Linked DNA regions of Homo sapiens: region 2 is linked to region 1. Evidence: promoter capture Hi-C in human tissues and cell types (Jung and others, 2019). All regions are on one chromosome and are shown on one strand. Each heading gives the region's core, a stretch centred on a gene start or on the middle of the fragment in contact. The rest is flanking DNA. Distances are from core to core; before and after follow the strand shown.

Region 1 (7,821 bases), core at 2,018-4,517:
TGTCACGTTTGTCATATTAAACCATAAGTGGTTTCAAATATGTCTTAATGTCCATATAATTAAAACAATAGAACAAATTCAATCCTTTTCCTAAAAAGTAAAAAAGGGCAAGAAAATATGGAAATTGTTTCAAGCTTTCAAACAATATATGGAGCAACCACTGAAATTCTGTAGATGGAACAGCAGCAAGTCTACTTTGAAAGGCACTGCTGACAATGAACTTCTTTCCACAGCAATACACAATTGATTCCATAAAAACGGCAGAAGCTGCTAAACGTGTACAGATTAACATCAAAGACAAACAAGTTGACTGTAACTGAAAAAACACAAACAAATGAACAAACAAACCAAAATCATTAGGATTTTTCCCCTCCCCATTTTCCTATGATCTTTAAATCAACAGTTTCAAGCATAAAAAATATGCTCACATTGTGATATGCTAGCATTTCCTATTTTGAGAAACAATGCAACCTCCTAAACCAGGACATAAAGTCAGAATGTGTGATTTTAATTTCTGAAAAAAGAACATGCATAATTTATTACAATTCTGAATACTCATCTAAAATATTTAAAGACAAAAAAAATGGAGCACAGCCTCCTACTGAGAAAATTATCCTTCCTCCCAATTTCAATTTTTATATCTGACATCAAATCCCTGTTTAAAGTTTCCTTAGGTCATTTTAAAAATAAATAAAATATTGTTTCATTTTTAAAAAGTTGTTAATGCCCAGTTGATACTGCAGTTGTAAATGATATGAAATTTCTCGTGTGATGTTTTAGTCCACTTTCTGTTTCTTATAACAGAATACCAGAAACTAGGTAATTTATAAAGAAAAGGAATGTATTTCTTACAGTTATGGAGACAGAGAAGTCCAAGGTCGAGGGGCCAGATCTCGAGAAGTCGAGAGCCTTCTTGCTGGCAGGGGATCTGTGCAGAGTATGGAGGCAGCATAGGGTGTCACATGGCAAGGAGGCTGAGCATGCTAACATGCTTACTCAGGTCTTTCTTCCTCTTCTTATAAACCACCAGTTCTACACTCCTATGATAACTCATTCATCCATTTATCCAATAACAAATCAATCTATAAGTGGATTAATCCATTCATAAGAACAGAGTACTCATGATCCAGTCTCCTCTTAAAGGCCCCACATTGGAGATTCAATACTGTCACATTGAGGATTAAGTTTCCCATACACGAAATTTGGGGGACACATTCGAATTATACCATGTGGTAAAGGCTACTCTTGATCTTTGTTGTTTAAAGCTAGAGAACTAATGGCCAGGCACAGTAGCTCATGTCTGTAATCAAAGCACTTTGGGAGGCCAAGGCAGGAGGATCACCTGAGGCCAGGAATTCAAGACCAAACTGGGCAACAAAGCACTCCATCTCTTTTTTGAAAAAAATATAATAAGATAAAATAAGATGAAATAAAGTTAAAGTACTATTTCTAGAAAACATTAAATGCAATTTCACTATCTGAGAAAAATAGCTTTCTTGTGGAAATTACTACCAATAAAGAAATCAAGAGATGTTTTCATTTACCTACAGTAAGAAGTGATTACCTTCATATTAGCACTTTCTAATCTTTTCAAAAAGGATAGAAGAAATTAACAGTTCTCGCAGTGGAGAAGAGCCACAATTCTTGGATATGTAAATCTATGTTAATCAAAGATTAATTATGCCACATATTTCATGGCTAATAGGAGAGAAAGAATGCTGACCACTAGGCAAGGAGAGGATGTTTAACTGACATTCATATTGATATAGATATAATGGGCACTGTCAATGACAACGAGTAATGATGATTTCTTAGGAAAGCATGTTCAGAGTTTTGCACATCACTGATTATCCCATTTTTATCTATTACACTTTTTGAAAAGAAAGACCCATTCTCTTAAATTGCCTAGTTAGAAAGTACTCTTTATGCAATAATGTTAATCTATCTTGATTTCTAAATATTTTAATAATGTCCTTTTTAAATTTTCTGCACAATATGATATTTTTGTTTTTTTGAACCACAGCCACTCCACCCTCACCCACACCCAGGATCAGAGATTAAAGCAAATGATTCTTTACACTCTCTCAAAAATAAATCCAGACTTTGGAAAATTACACAGTAATGTACAAGCATATAAAAACTCAAGGTCAGAAGTAATTTCAATAATTGCAGGGAGCTCTCTGGAGGTATCTGCCTGTAATTTAACAACCAACTATGGATGTAAACCGAGACAGTGATACTATCGTTATGCACCACGAAATTTTCCTAAGAGCTTTGATCAGATTCCCCTAAATAGTTTATGCATGTCTCTGTATGCAATCATAGGCGCTGACCTGGAATAATTAAAATGAAAATAATCAGTGCTGTATCTGTCTTAACATATACAAATTCGGTTTATCAATGTGAAAGCAGATCTGCAAAACTCAGTTGTCAAAAGGTGGCCTACGGTATTTTCATGACAGAGAATCTTTGTTAGGTTTGTTAATGTAACATGTGCAATGGAGGCTGGTGTATGTAATTAGTTTCCTCCTCAGAGAGATACTAGGAAGGTGGACGACAGTACCCCGGGAACTCACACGTCGGTCTAGGGCCCTTTTTGTCCCCCACCCTCACCTCACTCCTCAGACATGCACTCTCCCATCACATTTGAAGCCCCGGTGGGCAGTTTTCTAGGGTCGTTTCACTGGAGCGTTAAATGGCATCTGACGCCACCGGGCAGCCTGGGGTTGGATGCCATAGCCGCCAGCACCCACGGCTCACCTCCAGCTTGTGGTTGATTTGAGACACAGACTGGGCTTTGTGGCAAAGCTGTGCAAAGCAGGAGCTCAGGCTGGTCATCTTCTGTCGCCCCTCATAAGTGATGTCCGCTTGGTCTGGATCGATCTCTCCCAGGAGCAGATCCACATCCACAAAAGCTTTGTCGAACTCCTTCTCCAGCACCTCCAGCCACCGGAACATGGATACCCCGCCAGGGGCCCCCACGGAGCAGGAGGCGCCCCCTGGGCCCCCTCCGGCTGCTGCTGGGCATGGACCGCCCGCCGACATGGCGCCGTCAAGGGCCTCTCCCGACTGCTGAAGACCCTCGCCGCCCCCCGCGCACGAAGGGAACTGCTGGGACTGAGGGGACCCCCGCGCGCGCGGGCACACTCCGTCACCTCCCTTCACCTCGCGCCGTTAACGCCAGCAGCACAGTCACAGAACCGCAGGAGTAACGAGGCTGAAGCTGAGGCGGCAACGGCGGCGACACACGGAAGACTCAGTCAGTCCCACCTCCCAGCCTGCCCCCGCTGCGCATGCGTAGCGAAGAGCTGGGCGGACGCAGCCACGAGGGACAAAATAGGCGGGGACAGGATGCGATCTTGGCCTATGAAAGGCCTCAGCTTGGGAGCGGCCTGTCAGCGGCCATATTAACAACTGGCAAACTACGGCTTGAATCCCTGAGAAACGGAGGCGCGTGGTTTCTGCACCCTGGTTGGAAAGGCCCGAGGATGAGAAAGGTGTCCACGTCGCAGAAAGGAAGGATTTCCGCCGGTTTGACTTAACAGTTGGCGGGAGCCGTTCCAAAATCCTCCCAGAAAGTTGCTGCGGTGGCATCTAGGGTCAGGGAGGGGAGAGCAAGGAAGGGCGGTGTGAGCATGCGCAATAGCCACGTTTTTACCTTCTCGATTCCAGTTCCTGGATAGGATGGAGTGGGTGTACACACTGGCTGTTCTTGGTAAACCAGACCCCAAATTCCAGGTGTGGACTGCCTAAAGCTGCGCATTGAAGCGGCTGACCAGATTTTGCGGAATTAATAGAAGACTTTTTGTCTTGTGATTAAGAGTCAGGTAGACCTGGATTCAATTCTTACCCTCTGTCACATACTACCTGTGTCGCCTTTCATGTATTAACCTCGAAACCAAGTTTCCAAATTTTACTTAACTCAGTTGTAAGGTAAAACGCTTAGCGTCACTTCTTGGCACACGGTATTCCTCTTAATACACCATAGGTCACACATTTCAAAAGCAACTACAGTAGTGCTTCACTTAAGATGGGGATATGTTCTTAGGAATGTGTCCTTAGGTTAATCATCCCTTAGGGAACATCCTAGAGTGTATTTAAACACAAACCTAGATAGTATAGCCTACTACACACCCAGGCTATATGATGTAGCCTATTGCTCTTAGGCTGTAAACCTGTACAGCATGTTGCCATTCTGGATACGGTAGGCGATTATAACACAGTGGTAACTATTTGTGTACTTAAACATATCTAAACATAGAAAAGGTACAGTCATATACTCTTATAGGATCACCATAGTTTATGCGATCCATTCATTGCTGAAGCCTTGTTATTTGGCACATAACTGTACTTTAAAAGGTGTATTTATTTGAAAACTGGTAGTGTCCTCACACGTGACATTTCAGAAAATCAAAATTGTGAATTCATATATTTACAAATATATTGAATGCAGAGCTCTGTTGCGACATTGAAGACACAAAAATGAATGAGACATGACCCTTACTCAAGATAGGCTAGTGAGGCTACTACCCCTCAACTATAACTTTAACTTGAATTTTTCAGTGCCTTTAAAAGTATCCAGCAACTCCTCTCTTTACATTCTGCCTACTTCCAGTTCAAGGGTAGACAGTCCTAGAAAGGGAAAGAGAAACCTGTGTGATTAGAGTAGGCTGGTGGAAACTCCTGCATTACCTAGAAGCATATTTAGCTGAGTGCAGTCTGCTGTTATCTGTTCTTGGGGCAGACCCTTACGGTTAATCACAACCCAAAGCCTGCATTGTGTGCCCTTCGCTGATGCAAGGCAACTGAGGAGCAAGAAATCACAATTTTATTATTGCAGTCTTTGTACTGCATGGCAGACTGGTTAGCATGAAGCAATAAAGTCCTTTGGCTTGAGCAAACTTAGCTAATCAAAATGGATCATGAGATCCTGACCTTAGACTTAAGTAGGGACCTTCATACAGGTTTTAGTACACAATAAATAATGTAAAACTAAAATTTACATCTTTCCCCATTCCCTTCCAAAATTAGCTTTATTTTCATCTACAATATTTGCAAAAACATTGCTACAGCTATCAAGCTCCCAGCCACTTTATCTACACATAATACAGTTAGCAATGCATTTTCAGGAACGCGAAGTAAATAATTTAAAATTAGCAGGGCAGGGGGAGAATACATCGAACCACAATTATAATAGCTTTCAATTATTGAGTCCTTACTATGTGTTAGGCATTATGCTATTTTCTTTAATTCTTTGATCCTTACAAAATCCTATGAGGTAGGTATGATCACGTCTTTTATTGTTGTTGTTGAGACAGGATCTTGCTCTGTCGCCCATGCTGCAGTGCAGTGGCACGATCACAGCTCACTGCAGCCTCACTTTGTTGACCAGGCTGGTCTGGAACTCCTGGACTCAAACAATCCTCCTGCTTAGGCCTCCAAAAGTGCTGGGATTACAGGTGTGAGCCACCACACCCAGTAATCACTTTTTAACAGCTAAAGTCACAGACAGCTTAAGTGTCTTGGTAAGGTCACAAAACTAGAAAGAGATTGAGGTAGTATATCAATCTAGGTGTCTTTTTCTCCTAAGTTGTTGCTGTTAACCATGTAATACAGAAGAATGAAGGAATCTATTTCTTCTTGTAAAAGTTAGCAGTATAATAAACTAGCAAGTAAGTTCCAAAAGTTCTTTTTAATTTCTTCCTAGTTAGAAACCATATACAAATCTATTAACATATAAGAACCATTACCAAAAATTGTAATAACTCATTTTCTATTACTTGTAACTCTAATTTATATGAACCACACTTGAGTATAAATTTCATTTCTTTAAAAAATCAACTTCCAGCTACATTGTGTGGGTGCAGCTGAGTGACATTTTAAGTGTTTATATGTTTCCAGTGCTCTAATGGTTTGTGGGTACCCCCATTTTCGAGATTGCAGAACCCAGCTTCGTATCTATTACCTTTACAACTTCAACAAGTCATAGACTCATCTGTGTCTCAGACGAGTTTCATGTCATGTTGTCCCTTCTCATTACTGTAGTATGTAGACATAATCTTTTGCCCACCTGGATTGAGGTTATGCAAATCTGCAAGTCACAGCAGAACATGGATGTGAAAAGGAGGGCTTATCATCGGGGCTTGATGTTCAAGTGCTGCCATCTGTTGTCGGTGTACTCTATCTACACTTACTGCCTTATCCTTACCTACTCTGGAATTGGAGATTGCATGTAATGTCAATACTTGAGCGATTTGTTTTTCCACAGATATTAAAGTCTTGATACTTCTATTTGCAGTTGGATTGGCAGAAGCTTCCAATAACTGTTTTATGAATCATGCTTATGTGATTTTTAAAAAATATAACTTAAATGTGACACTCTTGTTTTAGGAACTTATCCCTACAGAGTTTTGTCACAAGGCATTACTAAAAATAAATTGGTTGGAGACTGAGGAAATTGGGGAAAGAGAGATGATGCTAAGGGTTTCTTTGATAGGTACTGGTAATTAACTGCGGGGTCAGTGTATAGTTTAAATATTTATGGAGCATCATTGATTGCAAGGGCACTGTAATAAAAGGGTGTATAAGACCCACCTTGGACTGGAGAGGGAGATTATCACTTATTGAACTCTACTGTGTTCCAGGCCCTGTACCTAACTTCACGTGTTTCATTTAGTTTCCAGTAACCCTACCAAGAGAAGGGGTTAAGTATATGCTGTTAGTGGCTATAACAAGTTGTATGTATGGTGAATGAAGAAAGTAAAAATCCACTAGCATTTTATTTAATCAATGTAGGAAAGGTTTGGAGTGTTGTATTCATACATATTATTTATATTTATTGAATTTATTATTCATATTACCAACAGTTTTGAAAATTTCAGATACATATGCTAAAGAAGTAAGTTTAGGAATCCAAAGGGATTTATTAGCCTTATTCTCCTGATTATTTCCCTTATATAAACAAAGGGATCTGGGTGTGGCGGTGTGCACCTGTAGTCACAACTACTTGAGAGGCTGAGGTGGGAGGATTTCTTGAATCTAGGAGTTTGAGACCCTCCTGGGCAACATAATGAGATCATGTCTCAAAAACAAACAAAAAACAGGACAACTGTTTGCTCTCTTGTTTTTAAAACTTGAGAATTTTGGTACAGTGATTTAGAATTAGCTCAGACACCTCCTCTTCCAGGAAGCCTTCCTTCTTTCTCCTCATATGATGCTATGGGCTCCATCCCCAATTAGTTTCCTGTAAATATCTTTTACCGCATTTATCATATTATTTTGGAGCTTGTTAGACTGTGAGTTCCTTGGCAACAATAACTGTATCTTACTTATCTTTGTATCCCAGGTCCTAACACAGGACCTAGAATGTGGTAGGAATGCTATAACTATTTGTGTGATAACTTCAATAATTAAGGTATTCGATCATTCTACCTAGGAAACTAACAGTCACTTCACTTTTCAAGACATACTTGTGATACATGCTAGAGAGCATAGCTAAATATTAATATATTTTTATATTGCCTCAGAGATTAGGATATCTATAAATTACATATTAGTCTTTCTTTTCCAAACCTAAAGTTTTATTTTACAATGATCTGGCTTATTTGACTAATAAATCCATTATAATTTAGGCTTCAAGGATTCTTTTGCTTATTCCATTGTTAAAATTTACTAGATACTATGTTTTGTATAGTATATTCAACCTAAAACCAAAACATAATAAATTTTACACTATCAAAGACAGACTATAACTGCTTTTCCCCTTTTCCCCGATGTACATTCTTCATCTACCACTTCCCACAGCTCCAGGTTTGCTTCAGC
Region 2 (7,821 bases), core at 1,805-4,304, 1.0 Mb after region 1:
CCCTACATGAATTTTAGGCTCTCATTTCAATGACAGTTCTTAAAAAATTAATAAGCACATTACAGATTATCTGAACAGCCAACTTAAAACATTATTTCCACATAATTTCAATGCTCCCGTATCTGTATAGCAGCCTTAAAAAGATTTATCACATAATTCAATGTCCCCATCTGTGTTTTGCGGTTGAAATAGCAGTTGCTTCTAAGTAAAGAGCAAATGACATCACTGGGTATTTACCATTATTTGAAAGAAGATAGCTTTACAGAATTATTCATTGATACCCTATTGAAACCGGCATGCAAGGAATGCCTTCTGGCAGTTTAAACATAAGGGTAACAAAACAACAAACGTGCATAAAATTAATTATACCAGTTTTTTTAACCACACTTTTAGGATTAGTTGTTCTCTATGTCAGTATTAAAATCAAAATATATAAACAAATTAATAAAACCAGACCTAAAGCTACCTCTATCATACTAAGCTCAACATTAATGATTCACTTTTAATAAAACATTGTCACATTATTTTATTTAATGCATTTATTTATTTAAATGCAATTTATCAATTAAATTTAGGCTTTATACATGTATAAAGTATATAAGCAGCCTTAAAAGCCTTATACATTTAAATTAACAAATCAAATTTGAAAAACAGTGGCCAAAGAGACACTTTTACCAGCTTTGAGGTTCAGAACAACCACTTAAAGCTTTGTAGATTCTAGACTTCTCTCAGAATGAGACTTTTCAATTCAAGTGATTCAACACTCACATTAAAGCACCAGAAGAAGGTGTTCTGTCACCAGATCTATTCTAATTCTGATCTGTGGTCTGTAATCTATACCAAAATTTTTTTTCAATCAGGTAACATCCCATCTAAATGAGCTCAAAGTCCTGCCTAAACTATTATCAAAAATGGCAACCAGCCTAGTCTCACAAGTGCAAACCTATTAGCTGGATAATTATTTTTTTTTAAGAATACCCAGCAAATAGCATAAATAGGCTGGGACTATATGTAAATGAAAAAATAAATATAAGAAACGATGCCAAATCTCACTAATGGTGGGAGAAGTGAAAAAGACAATAAATTTTCTGGATTTTTAAAACTATCAAGTTGATAAAAGAAAGACTGGTGTCAACCAAGTGAGGGGAATGTTCGTATATTTTTGTGGCCTTGCAAATTGGTACAACCTTTCTAAAGGGCAAACTGGAAAGTGGTATCTAAATGTCAATATAGACATGACCTTCTACTGAGAATTTATCCTAAGGAAATATCAGACAATTACAAATAAATATGAGTATAAGGACATTCCTGACAGCACTGCTTAAAGTAAATGCCTATGAACAAAATATAAACTGTTAATTAGTTGATAATGTTTAAGTGCTAAAAATGATTTTATCAACCTATTTTTTAACATGGAAGAACATCCAGAATATATCTAGTGTGTATGGAAGAGAAGCATTTTATGTAGCTATATACATAATATGATTCCACAGCTGGAGAAGAGTTTGTACATTTACATACATGGAAGAAGCTTTCAGGGAGCTCTATATCTAAATGCTAACACTGACTATGTTTTACTAAAGGAAGAAATACATTACAGGAACATTTACTCCATCATTGGTTATTATTATTATTCAATCTACCAGTTTATGTGGGGAAATGCTGAAAATTATGCATACTGATTTGCAGATTACATCAACATTTGATTCTGAGATTAGAAACCAGCTATAGCTCAAGATACGCAAATTCAGATTCCTAGTAACAATTTTTACAAAAGCTGCATAAAATGGCTAGAATTAAAACCCTTGCTTTTAGGCAATATAACTATTTTGAGCAGTATAAAGTCATGCTCCATTAAAGCCTACAACACACCTCCACCCTATTGATTGTTGACAAGTCTTGGCCAATAAACCATTTGTGGATTAAAAGGCAATAATCATTCTCTCTCTCACTCTCTCTCCACTCACTCACTTTCTCACTCCAGTAATGGGGAGGAAAGCCCACTGTACATATTAATGCTATGGTGTTATTATCACAAGCTAGGACAACCTTCAATCATTAGTCTTGTATAATTAACTATTGCCAGAAAAACAGTTCAATAAAACCTTTTTCTGTCAAGAGCCAGATTGTAAATATTTTCAGTTTTGTGGGTCACTCAATCTCCGTCTCAACTAGCCAATTCTGCCACTGTAGTCTAAATCAGCTGTAGACAATAAAATGGATGTGGCTATGTTGTAATAAAACTTTATTTACAAAAACAGGTGACAAGTCCAATGAAACCTGGGGGCCAGTTTGCAGACTCCTGAGATGTGGTAAAAAATCATTCTAACTGAAAAGAGTCCCTAAAATTCAACTGATTCATAAGTAACTACAGCCAGCATATTAATTCATTTCTTTATTTGGAAGAAAAGTGAGCTCATCCTAGAGTACATATCAGCAAGCCAGGCTGCCCAGAATCTGACAATTCATGAAAGCACTACTGAGGTTTTTCAAGGATTACAAAGACAAATAAATGTCAACAAGTGTTTTAGGTTTCTTTTTCCAGAATAAATGATCTCAGTTTATCCATATGGTATGGAACTCCTGGACAATGTCAAATATGTGTGATGGTTAATTTTACATGACAACTTGACTGGACCATGGGGTGCCCAGATATGCAGTCAAACATTACTTCCGTGAAGGTGTTTGGATGAGCTCAACATTCAGATTGGTCGACTGGATAAGGCAGACTGCCCTCCATAATGTGGGTGGGCTTCACTGAACCAGCTGAAGGCCTGAACACAACAAAAAAGCTAACCATCCCCTAAGCAGAAGAGAATTCTTCCTGCCTGATCCCCTTTGATTAAATACACTAGTACACTGGCTTTTTCCTACCTTCAAGCTTGAACTGATCTCTTCCTGGGGCTTGAGCCTGCCAGCCTTCAGACTGGAACTATGCTATCAACAATCCCAGGTCTCCAGCTTGCCAAATCACCTCACAGATCTTGGGACCTGTCAGCCACCATAATCTCATGAGCCAATTCTTAATTAATTAATTAAATGCTATTGGCTCTGTTTCTCTGGAGAACTTCAATACAATATTGGGAAAACTAGAAAAATTCTAATCTTGCCTACAGATATGAAAAAGTGGGGACAGCCTTCTATTTAGAAAAGAACAATAGTTGTAATCCTCAATTTCCATTACAGTATTTCAATATCATCTACTCAATATGATACCTATTCCACAGATTTCCAAAGCACATCAGTACAATCTCAACTATCTGTTATCTAACTTTTATACAAAAAAAGCTATAAGAAATGACAGAGAAAATGGTCTAAGACATGCTATCATTCCGCCCCTCTAGAAACCCTAAATTCTATCTTTGAATCACAGAGCAGTACATACATACTTAGAGCCTTTTTATTTAGCAACTCAGGGAAATGATCTTCCTAAAATTTCTTTCAGTGTACTGCCACCTTATAAACTTGAACCTCTGACTTTTACAGAAGGACACAAAAAGTAAGCAAACCACATAAATCATCAAATTGTTGTCTAGGCCGGGCAAGGTGGCTCACACCTGTAATCCCAGCACTTTGGGAGGCCAACGCTGGCAGACAGCTTGAGTTCAAGAGTTTAAGACCAGCCTGGAAAACATGGCAAAAGCCCATCTCTACAAAAGAAAAAAAAAAAAAAATTCAAAAAAATGCCTCTGTGCATGGTGGCACATGCCTGTAGTCTCAGCTACCTGGGAAGCTAAGCTACTTGAACCCAGGAGGTGGAGGCTGCAGTAAGCCGAGATCATGCCACTACACTCCAGCCTGGGTAATAAAGCAAGACTGTCTCAAAAAAAAAAAAAAAAAAAAAAAGTTGTCTATATATTTAAGAAGTTAAAGGCAAACACTAAAAATATTTGCAGATATGGTATTAATGCATAATTATAAAGAGATCATAAGCAAACTAAAAATAAATAAATAAATACTAAATGGTTTAGTCTAAATGGACAAAGGACAAACCCCAAAGGGAAAAACACAAATAAAAAATTCTGAAAAATAGTCCAAGCCCACTGGTAAGCAAGTAGTATCAAATTCAGAAGACATGCTATTTTTCAGCTATCAATCTAGCAAAAATGTTAAAAGAACAAAACAACAGTGTTCCTAGATACTCCCATACACTGATAATGGTAATGTTAATTTATTCATTACAAAAACACAACCTTTTGATAGGCTATTAGGCAATATACATCATGTGTAGCACATGCCTGTAATACCAGCTACTCAGGAAGCCAAGGTAAGATTGCTTAAGCCCAGGAGTTCGAGACCAGCCTGGGCAACATAGTGAGACCGTCTCAAAAAAAAAAAAAGGAAAAGAATTAACTATATAAATTGATCTCCTCCCACCTGAACTAATTTGCCTTAACCTTTAAACATAACTATGTCTTTAAAAAGAAGATCTGGTATTGTATGTGCCTCAAACACTGAAGATGATTAACAAATGTCATGAAAATAACATTCTAATCTTTTAATTTAAACTGAAAAAATTCACAGTCTGAAAAGAATGACATGACTTGTCTTTAGACAAGTCAATCCAGAAGCACAATACAGGAAGAAGTACATGTGAAATATGCTGACCAGGTGATTTAATAAGGAAAATTTTCTCACAGAATAGTTACAAGACTATGTTACTGAAATGGGAATATTGATATCTAGTATGCAATATGCACTTAAAAACTCAAAATAAGGCTGAATAACCTCTGGCAATAATGTCTTACCTAAAGACAAAAGGACTGCTGTAAGAACAGCAAAGATCCCAAGAAACTCTACATTGGAACTCCTCCTTGGAAGACAATATGTTACATTTTTCAATACTAATTTTTTAATACTAATTTTAATTATTTTAATAGAATACTGAGTGCCTGCGGATAACATTAAAAATTCTGAATATTTCTCAGACAGGAAGATTAGCATTAAATAAAAAAGCAACCTATTTTACTTCTGAAGCTCTTTTATTGGAAGCAAAAATGCATACAGTATCAAGTATTCCACAGCATTTGAATATATATGTAACTGCACTGAGAACAAGAACTACTCTCATTGAATATTTTAATGACAGCTCTAAATTGAAGAAAATAAAAATAACACTACTGACAAAGCAGATTTATACTTTTAAATAAGCTGAATACATAATACAAATCGAGAATACAAATTGCAATGTTTTTCAGAATGCAGATTATCTGTCACCCATTAGTATGTTTTAAAATCAACTTGGAAACCAACACTTTCAAATAAAATAGTAGATAAAGCATGTTTACCCTTATATTACATAAGTAGCACGCGGTTCACATTTTAACATCTCTGAAATATTAACAAGTACTTTTGCACAAAGAACCTATTCTGCTGCTGGAATAACTCCACTCAAGCCAGCCTCTACTCTACTATCTTCTAGAATCAAGCATGTTTATGTTATTCTTCTACTTACATAGATCTGTGAGCCCCTTACGGCATATTAAATAAATTCAAACTCCTTAAGTTAGGCAAAGTTCTTCACCAATTGTCAGCTTCACTTTGCAACTTCTACCTACAAAAACTATCTAGCCACACTTACCTAATCACTTCCTCCAAACAGATGAGACTCTTTCATGACTCCAAGCTGTTTCACTTCTGCACCTTAAGAGTCCTAGTTCAGAATTAACTTGTTCTGTCTTCCCTGATTCCTCCAGGTGGCATTAAATACTTTGTTCACTCCCAATATATTATTCAAAATTCCAACAACATTTAATAAATTATATTAACCCATATGTATATGACTTTCTTCTCCCTCACCAAACTGTGAAAAATGAAAGGCAACTTTTTTTAGTGTCCAGTACCTAGCAAAGAGCTGCACACTTATACAGGGTCTCAATAAATGTAGTCATTATAACCACTGGATACCTAACAAATGTTCACAGAATAAAATTAGAATTTTGGAAGCCTTACAATTACAACTACAAAAATATCTTTGTGTTCAGAAAAAGGATTCAAACAAGCGTTTTGTTTGGTGGTTGTTGTCTGCTTATTTTAAAATCCAGGATATTTTAAACTATCCCTTGAGCCAGTATGCATTTAAGTATCTATTTAGAGATCAGTAAATATTTATCAATGCAGCTTTTTTTAAGGTAATTTTAAATAATTTAGAGATCTGATGGCCAACATTCCTAACATGGGAAAACAGTCTCCAATAGGTTAAAAAGACACAAAACTCACACAAAAAATTAGAACATTAAACGGTAAGAAAAAAACGTTCATATTAACAGTAGCCAAACAGAAAAAACCAACAAATCTGGAACTACACTGCAGAATATCTAGCTAAGATGACAGAAACATCACATAGTGTTATTTTCTCCATCCCAATCCTCCACTCCATTTCAGTACTATTTATCTCTAGGGTAAGTGACTCCAATAGTCTTAGTTTGTTTCTTTTATCACAGAATTACCAGTATAGCTCAGTGTGCACTGTGAAACCAGGCTACCTGGGTTCAAGTTCATTCTACCTCTTATTAGCAGTAAGTCCTCATAAATCACTTAACCTCTCTGTGCCTCAATTTCTTCATATGTAAGAGAAGAAAAAAATTATAGAATAGTACCTATATTATAGGGTTGTTGTGATCAATGAACATGTAAAGTTTTTTGTTGTTGTTATTGTTTTTGAGACAGAGCCTCTCTCAGTTGCCCAGGATGGAGTGCAGTAGTGCAGTCTCGGCTCACTGCAACATTCATCCCCCAGGTTCAAGAGATTCTCCTGCCTCAGCCTCCCAAGTTGTGCGGATTACAGGCACACACCACCATGTCTGGCTAATTTTTTAGGTTTTTTTTAAGTAGAGATGGGGTTTCGCCATGTTGGCCAGGCTGGTCTCGAACTCCTGACCTCAAGTGATCCGCCTGCTCAGCCTCCCAAAGTACTGGGATTACAGGCGTGAGCCACTGCACCTGGCCTGTAAATATATTTTTGAAAGTGCCAGACATATAATTAGGATCTCAATAAATGTTATTATTTTTATTACTGTCCATGCATAGAAATTTTCCAGAAGGATAACTAAAAACTATTAAAAATGGAGTGGAGGACTGACATGAAAGGTAGATAAAAAAGCTTACTTCACTTTAAGCTTTTCTGTACTGAGTCAACATTTTACTGAGCATGTGTAACTTTAATAATGAGAAGAAAAAAATCATCTGACAAATACCACATAACAATAATTCTTCTGCTCCTCATGAGGTACAGTACCCCACTCTCTTCCAAGTTTTTAACCTTGCTCTTTTCCCTCCCTATTTAATCAAGGACATCTACACTGTCACCAGCTTCTCTCTTAATATCTTACTAGCATGTTTACAACTACTTATCTCCTTCAAAACACAAACCCAATGCCCATCTCTCTGATAACCACCACTTTTTTAACATCATTCCAAGAGATTAAGCATAAGCTTTCTATCTCTATGATCTGCAAAGTGAATACATGCATGCCAGGGAGTACACGAGCCAATCCACTGGCAAGCTGCTGGAAGAAAAAAACTTGTTTATACTGAAAATTATCTTTAGGAAAAAGTAATGCATTAAATTTTGCTATAATATTTAACATACAGGTTAACACTAGTGCCCTTACTTGGATTATCAGAGCATTATGTTACATATATATAACATAAACGGAGGTGCTCTATACAGAGGGCTTGACGGTGACATCCTCCTTTGTTCATTTGATTTTTTCGTATGGGTATGCATTGCAGTTCATGGCTGGTTAAGCAGATTTGCATATCGATAACATTAGGTAGTTTTACTTAAACTAGCCCTCACAAAATGGATTTGTGGCTCTA

What was found. Contacts are between HindIII fragments. The study calls those that stand out against the background at their distance.
Region 2: a contact is called between a fragment that was not itself captured here and the fragment with the promoter of GOPC in region 1, in 1 of the 25 tissues and cell types used here (dorsolateral prefrontal cortex).

Annotation. Positions count from the first base shown.
Region 1 is chr6:117,599,244-117,607,064 of GRCh38, forward strand. GOPC (golgi associated PDZ and coiled-coil motif containing) reads right to left here and starts at 3,268. Exons shown (of 9, transcript NM_020399.4): 1 at 2,761-3,268. The coding sequence starts at 3,045. It also overlaps the pseudogene NEPNP. RefSeq lists enhancers at 3,150-3,239, 3,370-3,659. The HindIII fragment of the contact is 7,482 bases long and covers 1,525-7,821 here.
Region 2 is chr6:118,633,881-118,641,701 of GRCh38, forward strand. The region is part of intron 1 of CEP85L (centrosomal protein 85L); the gene reads right to left. Among named protein-coding and RNA genes, the nearest start is that of CEP85L, 14 kb to the right of the region's middle. The HindIII fragment of the contact is 3,873 bases long and covers 1,119-4,991 here.